2 separate regions of the Homo sapiens genome follow, and region 1 is linked to region 2. The links are contacts of gene promoters, found by promoter capture Hi-C in human tissues and cell types (Jung and others, 2019). All regions are on one chromosome and are shown on one strand. Each heading gives the region's core, a stretch centred on a gene start or on the middle of the fragment in contact. The rest is flanking DNA. Distances are from core to core; before and after follow the strand shown.

Region 1 (5,844 bases), core at 2,726-5,225, 1.3 Mb after region 2:
GCCTTACAGCCAGTGAACTAGCATGGTAAGTGACCTAGAGTGACACCAGCTGGCACACCTTGTGCCATACCTCCCCAAACCCCAGGCAGTGCAGCTCTCTGCAACAAAGTGACTCTTTCCTTCTGCTTAAGTAGAGGAGAGCAAAGAGTAAAGAGGACTTTGTCTTGTATCTGGGATACCAGCTCAGCCACAGTACGATAGGACATTGAGCAGGGTGATGAGGCTCCCATCCCAGGCCCTAGCTCCTAGACAACATTTCTAGACACACCTTGGGCCAAAAGGGAACCTACTGCCTTGAAAGGAAGGACTCAGTCCTGGCAGGATTCATCAGTCCTTGGGCCCTGAATAGCAGCAATACCAGCGAGTATGCTGTGGGCCTTGGGCTCTGAGATATGCTGGCTTCAGGGGTGACCCAGCACATTCCCAGCTGTGGTGGCTACAATGGAAGACTCCTTCTATTTGAGAAAAGCAGAGGGAAACATAAAGGAGGCTTTGTCTTGCACCTTAGGTACCAGTTCAGCCACAGAGGGGTAGAGCACCAAGAGGGTTCTTGGGGGAGTCCTCGAGTCCAGGCTTAGGCTCTTGACAGCATTTCTGGATCTGCCCTGGGCCAGAGGGGAGCCCACTGCCCTGAAGGGTGAGTTCTAGGCCTGGCAGCATTCACCGCAAGCTGACAGAAGAATGCTTGAGCTTTATGTGATCATCAGCCGTGGCCTGGCAGAAACCCCCATGAACAGGTGGTGGTGGTGGCTATAGGAGAGGCTCCTCTGCCTGTGGAAAGGGAAGGGAAGAGTTGAAAGGGCTTGTATTATGGTTTGAATGCCAGGTTAGCTACAGTAGAATAGAACATCAGGTAGGCCAGGCGCAGTGGCTCACACCTGTAATCCCAGCACTATGGGAGGCCGAGGTGGGTGGATCACCAGGTCAGGAGTTCAAGACCAGCCTGGCCAACATAGTGAAACCCTGTCTCTAATAAAAATACAAAAATTAGCCGGGTGTGGTGGCGGACGCCTGTAATCCCAGCTACTCAGGAGACTGAGGCTGGAGAATCACTTGAATCTGGGAGGCAGAGGTTGTAGTGAGCTGAGATTGCGCCATTGTACTCCAGCCTGGGCGGCAGAGACTCCACCTTAAAAAAATAATAATAATAATAATAAAAAGAACTTCAGGTAAATTGCTAAGATTTCTGACTCCAATCCCTGGCTCCCAGACAGCCCAGCTCTGGGAACAGCCGGGGCCTAGGGGAACTCACTGCCATGATAGGTGCTGGCTTAAGGTCTGATCCAGCACAGTCCCAGTGGTGGTGGCCACAGTGAGCCACCACCCTCAGTTCCAGCTGGCTCAGCAGAGAGAGACATTCCATTTATTTCGGAGCAAGTGAGTGAAAAGAACAAGAGTCTCTGCCTGTAATTCAGAGAATTCTTCCAGATCTTTGCCAAGACTATCAAGGTGGTACCTCTACAAGTCTGAAAAAACCACAGCATTATTAGGCTTGGGGCACAAGTCCCTTCAAACACCCTGAAAGCCTTCCCAAGAAGGACAGCCAAAAACAAGCCCAGATTGTGAAGACTACAATAAATACTTAATTTTTCAATGCCCACACACCAATGAACATCTACAAGCATTAACACCATCCAGGAAACATGATCTCATGAAATGAACTAAATAAGGAACCAGGGACCAATCCTGGAGAAACATAGATATAGGAACTTTCAGGCAGAGAATTCAAAGCAGCTGTTTTGAGGAATCTCAAAGAAAATCAACATAACACAGAGAAGGAATTCAGAATTCTATCAGATAAATTTAACAAAGAAGCTGAAATAATTTAAAAGAAGCAGAAATTCTAGGGTCAAAAAATATAATTGACATGCTGAAGAATGCATCAGAGTTTCTTAATAGCAGAATAGTTTTCTTTTCTTTTTTTTTTTTTGAGACAGGTTCCTACTTTTTTGTCCAGGCTAGGGTACAGTGGTGCGATCATAGCTCACTGTAACCTCAAACTCCTGGGCTCCAGTGATGTTCCCACTTCAGCCTCCCAAGTAGTGGGACTAGAGATGTGCGCCACCATGCCCAGCTAATATTGTATTATTATTATTATTATTATTTGGTAGAGATGGGGTCTTGCTATGTTGCCAGTGCTGGACTTGAACTCCTGGCCTCAACTGATTCTCCCATCTTGGCCTCCCAAAGTGCTGAAATTACAGGTATGAGCCACCATTCTCAGTCTCTTTTTTTTTTTTTTTTTTTTTGAGATGGAGTCTCACTCTGTCACCCAGGCCAGAGTGGAGTGGTGCGATCTCAGCTCACTGCAACCTCCACCTCCTGGATTCAAGCGATTCTCCTGCCTCAGCCTCCTGAGTAGCTGGGACTACAGGCGCGCACCACCACACCCGGCTAATTTTTGTATTTTTAGCAGAGACGGCATTTCACCATATTGGCCAGGGTGATCTTGATCTCTTGACCTCGTGATCCCCCCGCCTTGACCTCCCAAAGTGCTGGGATTACAAGCGCAAGCCACAGTGCCTGGCCAGAAGGGTGAACATTAGAGACTGACAACCCCACGTGCTGGAAAGCATGTGAAACAAGTGGAACTCTTATATGTGGCTGGTGGGAATTGTAAAATGGTACAACCACTTTGGAAAACTGCTTGGCAATTCCTTACAAAGTTAGACATGGGTGACGGCACCCGCCTATAGTCCCAGCTATTCAAGAGGCCAAGGCTGCAATGAGCTATGATTGTGCCACTGCTCTCTAGCCTGGGGGACGGAGAGACCCTGCTTCTAAAAAAAAAAAAAAATTTTAAGTTAAACATACCCAGAATGACCCAGAAATTCCACTCCTGTATTTCCTCAAGATAAATAAAATATGCCCACAAGGACTTGTACGAGAATGGTTATAGCAACTTTGCTCATCATCACCAAAAATTGAAAGCAATACAAATCCATCAACTGGTGAATGCATAAAGTATTCAATGGAATGCCTCTCAATAACAAACACTACTAACTTCTGGTTCACGCAGACCCAAAAGAGTACCTATCACCTTCATTTTTATAGTGCTAGAAATAAGAGGAGTGGTTGCTGATGTGGTGGGAGATGGACAGGAAAGAAACAGGCCACTCTTCTGAGTGATGGAAATGCTCTACGTCCTGATTGGGTGGTAGTTACACAGCTGTTTACATTTACCAAACTCATCAAATTGTCCACTGGGGGGGAAAAACTATTATTTTCACTGTATACGAAAACTTCGCCTCAACAAAAAATGAACTAAAAAAGAAAAAAAAGGGGAGGGGGGCTGGCGACGTTGAAAAGTAACGCTAAACTATGTAAGGATTTGATAATTGGGGTAAGCCTTTTCTTTAAAACGTCTAGTAAAGAAAACATTCCAAGAAGGTCTGCTAGATTCTGTGACTAAACAAGGACATTAAAAAGCCCTGAATCCAGCTTGGTCAACGTAGTGAGGCCCTGTCTCTACGGAATTTTTTTAAAGTTAGCCAGGCGTAGTGGTGCGCGCCTATAGTCCCAGCTACTCGGGAGGCTGAGGTGGGAGGATGGTTTGAACACAGCAGCTCAAGGCTGCAGTGAGCAGTGGTCGGTGCCCACTATACTCCAGCCTAAGGGACAGAGACCTTGTCTCAAAAAAAAGAAAAAAGAAAAAAAAAAAAAGCCTTGCGAGCTCTGGGGGAGATTTCCCGCAGCCCAGCTTTGCCAGGGACCCAGCCTCACCCCTCGGGCTCCACCGCCCACTCCCGCCCTTCACCTGACGTGAGCGCCCCGACTGCTCCACTCCTTCTCATCCCGCGTCGCGGTCCCGCCTATTTTCCCTCTCTCACCCATCTTTTGAACTGGCCCTTCACCTTTCAATCAATTCAAATATCGCACGGAGCAAACCAATCGCAAGCCTCGTTGAGTGGAAGGGGTGGGATCTTCCCCGGAAGTGTTGGTTAAAGCCCCTCCAATCAGCGGCTCGGTGCGGCAAGTTTGAATTTCGTGGAGGCTCGGGTTGTGAGGGTTCCTGCTTCGGAGTCGGCGGTGGTCGTCCAGACCGAGTGTTCTTTACTTTTTGTTTGGTTGAGGTTTCACGCTAGAAGGTGGCTCAGGTAGGTGGGTGCTGGAGAGCTGGACGGAGAACACTGGCCCGCTTCCGTTGAAGGTCTAGAAGGGTCTGAGGACCGGGGGCTGCGAGCGGGAGCAAGTCAGAGGCAGGCTCCTTTAGGACCGTGTTACCTGCCCTTCCCGAAGCTGATAATGCGAGCCTTTAGAAGAGTCCATATGTTTGCCCTGACCTCTGTAATAGTCAGCGTTTCACCACCGGGGCGTAATTGACCTTTGGGGTGAAACTGTTCTTCACTAGCTCCGACATTAAATTCCCGTAGCTCTTCCCAGGTCCCATGGCAACTAAAAACGCCCGGTTGAGAACCTCTAGTCAAGCAAGATTAACGCATTCTGGACTTTCAAGCTGGAGGAAACGCCACTCAGCCAAACAAAATTTAGGTGTGTGTGGAGCCAGGGCTGCCTTGCTTGGGATCCCAGCTTCACCACCTTTTAGATATGCTAATGTGAGCAGTTAATTGACCTCATCTGTATGAGAGCGATAATAGTTAACTACCTTTCAGGGTTATTCTGATAATTGTACCTTTAATGTTGTCCTCGCTCGCTCTTTCTCTTGCTGTGGATAGTGCTATCCTGTATTTAATACATAAGTCTTAATTTTTCTTCAATCTTTAGCGAATTAATATTGCAGGAGATAAATAGTAGAAGACAGTTCTTTATGAAAAGCACAGTCCATTGTCACTTTCCTTGGGTCTTAGAGGAGAATGTTATTAGCATGCAGGTCAGACAGATTCTCGTTTTTTATATTTTGTTGATTGCTTAGAATCATGTAACAATGTATTGCATTACTTGTGCCAATTTTTCTATTATCTGGAGTTTTCTAGTGGATTTAGTTAATTCTTGTTGAAGAATATACCATAGTGTGTCTATCACAGAGCCTCCCCCTTACCTTTTTTTGTTTTTGTTTTTTAACTGCCAAGACTTCTGAGAATCAGTATCCTTTCTCCAGTTTGGCTTGGTAGTTCTCTATACCAGCTACACAGGTGACCCCCTCAAACTTTCTAATTTTCTTTGTTCTCCCTAGTTGGATCTACTGACGTCGTCTTTATTGTCCTCTTTTGTTTTGCTTGAATACATTCTCAAAGATCTTTCCAAGAAAAAGGCATGTGCCAATTAAACTATATGATTTTGTGCGTGTGTGTGTGTGTGTGTGTGTGTGTATGGCTTTTCTTTTTTAAAATTTATAGAGACGGGGTCGTGTTATGTTGCCCAGGCTGGTCTCAAACTCCTGGGCTCAAGCAGTCCTGCCTCGACCTCCCAAAGTGGTAGGATTACAGGCCTAAGCCACCGTGCCGGCCTAAACTGTATGATTTCTTGTATGGATGAAAATAATGGAGCAAACTGATAGGGTTATTGTGAACTATATATTTGGTCTTGTTCTGTTTTCTGGCAAACAACTACTAAAATCCTTGGAGTCTTCAAAGTGGTACCTTTTTGTATGCTAATGATTGACTGATAGCTGGATGCCTCTAAATAGCTTCAGGATTGGGGCTGGTCACTAGACAGACCAAGGCAGGATTTCTCGAGAGTTGGCATTTTCAGCCCCACCTCACAACCTCTGGGGAGGGGAGAGGAGCTGAAGGTTGACTTGATCACCAGTGGTCAATGATTTAATCACTCATGCTTATGTAATGAAGCTGCCATAAAAACCAAAAAAAAACACCTGTGTTTGGAGAGCTTCTTAGGTGAATACATGAAGGTTCCTAAACAGTGGTGCTACCTGAGAGAGCATGG
Region 2 (5,474 bases), core at 2,220-4,719:
CAATAATAATAAGAGCAAACACTTAGATAGTGCTTATCATATACCTGGCACTATACTAAGCATTTTCCACCTCTATGTATGTTAAACATGGGATTAATTAACTCTGATCTGAAAATCACTGATTTTCAGAGAAAGTTGACTACTTTCTCAGAGATAATAAAGCAAATATCTCTAAACAGTTTTTTAAAAGGGGAGAGAGGGAGGGAATAAGAAAGGGAGGAAAAAGTGCAGTATTAGTAAGGTATTAGTCAAGATGTTTGGATTACACATTATAAAAATTTCAACTAAAGGCAGCTTAGGCAAGATACAAAATGTGCTGGCTCATGTAACTAGAAAGGGAAAGGGCAAGTCATTTTCCTGGAGGACAGCTTCCCAGATCCTGCTTAGGGTCCTGTGACACTGACAGCAGAGAGGAATGCCTCTGAATAAAAGCAGGTGGAGCCATTCAAAATGCCCACGGGTCTATCCCTAGGAGCTCCACCCCAATTCCTCTGCAGATGAGACTGCGAAGCACAAACTCAGGTACTCCTCAGGAGCTACCCACAAAGAGGGGTAAGGATACCTCTCTTATTTCCTTGAGAGTAGGGAAAGCTGCAGGGTGCCCAGAAAGTTCAGAGCAGGCTCCAGGTAGAGAGAGGGCCTACAAGCATGAGGGGAGCTGGTGTTGTTTTGTTACGCAACTGCAGAGGGCACCATTTCTTTATATTCTTTGTGAATGACACTCCTGGGTGTTCAAAGGAGTGGCTCTGCAACAGCCATGGCAGAAGCCAGTGGAGAGTGACTACGGACACAGCAATAACCAGAAATCTTTAACTGGTCACTAAGCAAGCCGATGACATCCTGGCTGTCTGCAAGGGAACAGAACAAAATGTGGGAAGGGGTTGCCATTTGGAGACCTAGCGATCTTAATGGAAGTGAGAAGGTAGATGGAATCAATATGTATTATAATCAGTAGCTGTGGTCCTATTTGCTCCCCACCCCTCAAGTTGGGCCAGGGGAAGTGAAGGTTATATTCCTCTTCTGAGTCCTTGGGAACAGAAATCCTAACATGAATGAAGGTGACCAATCTTGGAATTGATGCTATTGACAGAGGAGAATAGAGAGCCAAAAAGTGCACTCTGCAAGGTTGATATTACTCACGGTATAACCATGACATAGACATTCCTAAGAAAACAAATGAAAAAGCAGTAGAACAGATCATAAACTTCCCCGTGCAGCGTTTTTATAATAATAATAATAATAATTATTATTATTATTAGCATATTCTTTCATTTTTATTTTGTTTTAGGGCTATAGTCAGATGACATACCAAGACCACAATGAGTGCCAGTAGGCAGGCTCCAGCCCTGTGCCAGCCAAGCATTTTGGTGATTAATGTTCTTGGCTCTGAGGAAATAGCACTCTTTCTCTAAATTCAGATTTTTTTTTGGCATAAAACTTTGGAAACTAGGTTTAAAATTCTCCATAATGACCATCTTGTCTATTCTCAGGCTAGTCATAGAATTCATAGCTAATCTAAGATTAATTTTAAAACCAGGGAGAAACAGTAGAGGTCATCCACTCCGAGCCTTTTTTTCTTTCATCTTTCATCCTTCTTTCCTTCCTTCCTCCATCCCTCCCTTCCTTCCTTTCTTCTTTCTAATGAATTCACTAATATATTTTATTTTAAATTGCACTTTGATTATAAAAGTAGTATATATTAATACTTAAAATTTGGAAACAGAAAATTTAAACTAAATGCCTCACAATCTTCCACCCAAAGACAAATACTGTCATCTACAGACTGTCCCCGACTTAGGAGGGTTTAAGATTTTTCACGATATGATTGTGTGAAAGTGACCCACATTCAGTAGAAACCATACTTCAGTACAGAAATCAATACATTACATGGGATACATAGCACTTTCTTATAAAATAGGATTTGTGTTACATGATTTTGTCCAACTGTAGGCTAATATAAGTCTTCTGAACATATTTAAGGTGGGTGAGCCTAAGCTATGATGTGCAGTAGGTTAAGGTGTATCAAATGCATTTTTGACTTGCCATATTTTCAAATTATGATGGGTTTATCAGGATGTAACTCCATGGTAATTGGAGGGGAACCTATGTTTTTATATTCATTATAAGAATTGATACGACTCTCTTTTTTGTTCTTTCCCCAAATCTGACCTCTTCACCATGAGACAATGCTCCTAAACTGTTGATTAGACACAGGGCTATTCACTCTCTGGGGGAAGGGGTCAGGAAGACCTACCCCAAAGAGCTTGGGAAATTGACATGTCAGAATATACCTCCATTATTTTTAAATGGGAAAATTGAACTCCAGTCATTTGCCAAAAGGCAATGACTCTATCAGGACTCCTCCAATGTAATAGCTAATTGCTTCAAAATTCACTGTGCTCCTTTTCAAGTGTGAAGTCCAGGGAATGGACAGGATGCTGTAGTCCAGAAATGGACAGAAGATGTCATATGGTAAGATGTCAGAAAGATCTTCACGATTTTCTCTTTCGATGTGTTATGTCTCATCACACACAAAGTGTGAAAACACTTCCTAAATTAGACAAGTAACAATTTATATCAAGAAAAATATTGTCTTATCCTATAAAATGAATAAGTGGCAGGTAAGTATGGTTCAATATGTGTCTACTGATATTAATAATGTCCAGTTGAGTTGAAATATGTAGGAAAGTCTTTGAGGGAAGGAAATACTTTCCTGACTCTAAATGGCCTTTTGCTTGTCATATTTACTTGGATGTCCAACAGAGATTAACTCTTTATGTGGATGTGATGGTAGATTTCACTTTTAAATCAAACAATTAGCAAAAAAAAAAAAAAAAAAAAAAAAAACCATACAGGAATGGAGGCAAAAGCTTCCAAAGTCCAAACAAATGCCATGTAAACATTCCATGATCTACTTTTACTTTTAGATGGTAGATCATGTGTTGAGAATTTACATGAGTTAGCATCAGAAAGTATCACAAGCCCATTGTACACCATCTTTCCCAAGTTTCACAATACGTGGGAAATTAACATTTGGGTTGCCATTTTTTAAATTAAAAGTATGATGGCTTTTTGCTGACCCAGATGATCCCTTGTCTACTTTCATCAAAGGCACAGTGTGAGAGAGTAGAGATTTTACTATATTGTCTATTTCTCCAAAAAGGCCTCACCTAGCACTGGCCTTCTCATCAGGATGGGTTAGCTCCTTGCTAAATGTTAACTGCGGACCAGCAGAATCGACATCAGCTTCATCAGAGGAGCTTGTAAGAAATGCAGAACCTCATGGCACACTCCAGACTTATTGAATCAGAATCTACATTTTAACACGTTCTCCATGTGATTTATACGAACATTAATGTTTGAGAAGCACTGGGTTAATTGACGATTAAGAAATATAGTGCATCTGTTTGCCCTACTCTCCATCTGTTGCCCAACACACACACACACACACACACACACACACACACACACACATGCACACACACACTCTTTGGGTTTAAAATTAAAGAGCAGACTGGTCAAAATCATGCAAAATCATGAATTTGCAGGATTTAACTGCTGAATGCAATACTAAAAATCATGTAGTCACAACCCTTCAAATGGCAGAGATTAGTAAACATCTCCCACTATTCATTCTCCCCTTCTGCCCTGTAGTAATAGAACTCTCCAAGGTTTATCTGAGCACACCACACAACAAGACAGTGCATTTCCCTAGCTCCTTTACAGCTAAGAATCGCCATGCTATTAAATTTGAATCAATGAGATATGAGCACAAGAGACACATTCAACTTCCAGTCAGTTCCTCAGCAAAGTAGCAGCTTTTCACAAGCTTTCCTTTTTCTGATGGCTGGGAAGCAGCAACAGCTACAGTAGATACCTTGGGCTCAGAGATAGAAGTCACACACTGAGAATAACAGAGCTACTAGCCATCCCAGGTCAATAGATGACCTTCTGTAACAGAGCAGCCCAACTATCCCAGAATGCCAGATCAGCCTGGGACATGGAAGGGAAATTAAGCTCTCTCTCATCCTACCCATTGAAGTCACTGTGATTTTAAGTCTCTTGATGGCAGCTTAGCCTTTGTGCTCTGATTGATTACTTCACAAGTGAGGAACTGAGGCCCAGAAACTGTATGACTTATGGTGAAAATATCACTTACGAATGTAAAAATAAGCCAGTGGAAAATATTTAAAGATTTTTAGGCCAGGCATTGTGACTTACACCTATAATCCCAGCACTTTGGGAGGCCAAAGAAGAAGGATGACTTGGGGCCAGAAGTTCAAGTCTAGCCTAGGCAACATGGCAAGACCCCCCTCCATTGCTACAAAAAATAACAAATTAGCCAGGCATGGTGGTGCATGCCTGTACTCCCAGCTACTTGGGAGGCCAAGGCAGGAGGATTGCTTGAGCCCAGGAGGTCAAAGCTGAAGTGAACTATGATCACACCACTACACTCCAGCCTGGGTAACAGAACAAGAACTTGCCTCAAATAAATAAATAAATAAAATTAAAGATTTTTAAAAATGTATACTCAATTTTATAATGAAGACATTTTAAATGTTTTGAGGCCAGATGTGATAGAACACTGGCTTTCCTGACTAAGCTTCTTGGCTTGGAGGTTTTCTCTTAGCTACCTCTGAGGGATATGCATACTTGTTTATCACACAGCAGCTACTTGGATGAATGAATAAATAAAAGGATAAAGTGAACTCTGTTTTTACTAAACCACCAGGTTAAAAAAATTTTTTTGGCTTCTGCTTATTTTGAAGAATGTAATCTTAAAGTGCATCTTAAGTTGACCACTTGACCCATCTGCCACCATGAAACAAAGCGACAACCAATAAAGGGTTTCAAATAGGCACAGTTTTCATAGTTTTTTGAGTTTTCCTTTCGAGTAGATACATGGGTGGGTGGGGGGAGTAGTTATAGATCTATGTGTTTGCATTGGGTTAGGACTAGAGTTCAGCGTTATTTTTTTCCTCTTTGGTTTGTGGTCATGCCTTAATAGTCATTAAACCAAAGTCATAAAGACGGTTGAAGATACAGGACACGGTATTGCCAACATGAGGATAGTTTATTGGCTCCATGGTTCAGTCACTTTTGAATTCAGATAATGTTTGACCAGCAGACTTCTTAACAGATTTTCTAGAATCCTATTTCTATCATTACAAGTTAAATTGTCACTTTGCTATACAAAGATCCACACCTAGTCACCCAGTTATATTTATCCAATGATAAAAAAACAAAACGCGACTATATGAGATCATTTTAAAATAAAAAAGTAATGAAACACTAAACAATCACTCCAGGTTGTCTGTAACCATAATAATTCATCATAAGGTTGCCCCACAAGGAAGGATTGCATGCATAGACGTTTAAGCAATATGTAGACTTATAACTTTTATTTTTCTGTTTGCTAATAGTGCCTATAACTGAAACAATGAATTATAATATTGACAGGGACTCAATGAATC

Evidence for each region. Contacts are between HindIII fragments. The study calls those that stand out against the background at their distance.
Region 1: the fragment with the promoter of DLGAP5 here is called in contact with a fragment that was not itself captured in region 2 in 1 of the 25 tissues and cell types used here (mesenchymal stem cells).

The regions. Positions count from the first base shown.
Region 1 is chr14:55,189,716-55,195,559 of GRCh38, reverse strand. DLGAP5 (DLG associated protein 5) reads left to right here and starts at 3,975. Exons shown (of 19, transcript NM_014750.5): 1 at 3,975-4,097. LOC105370508 (a long non-coding RNA gene) reads right to left here and starts at 3,887. Exons shown (of 2, transcript XR_943888.3): 1 at 3,758-3,887; 2 at 1-771. RefSeq lists enhancers at 1-49, 3,679-4,231, 4,232-4,785. The HindIII fragment of the contact is 18,393 bases long and covers 1-5,844 here.
Region 2 is chr14:56,477,674-56,483,147 of GRCh38, reverse strand. No RefSeq gene overlaps it. Among named protein-coding and RNA genes, the nearest start is that of TMEM260, 99 kb to the left of the region's middle. The HindIII fragment of the contact is 5,960 bases long and covers 490-5,474 here.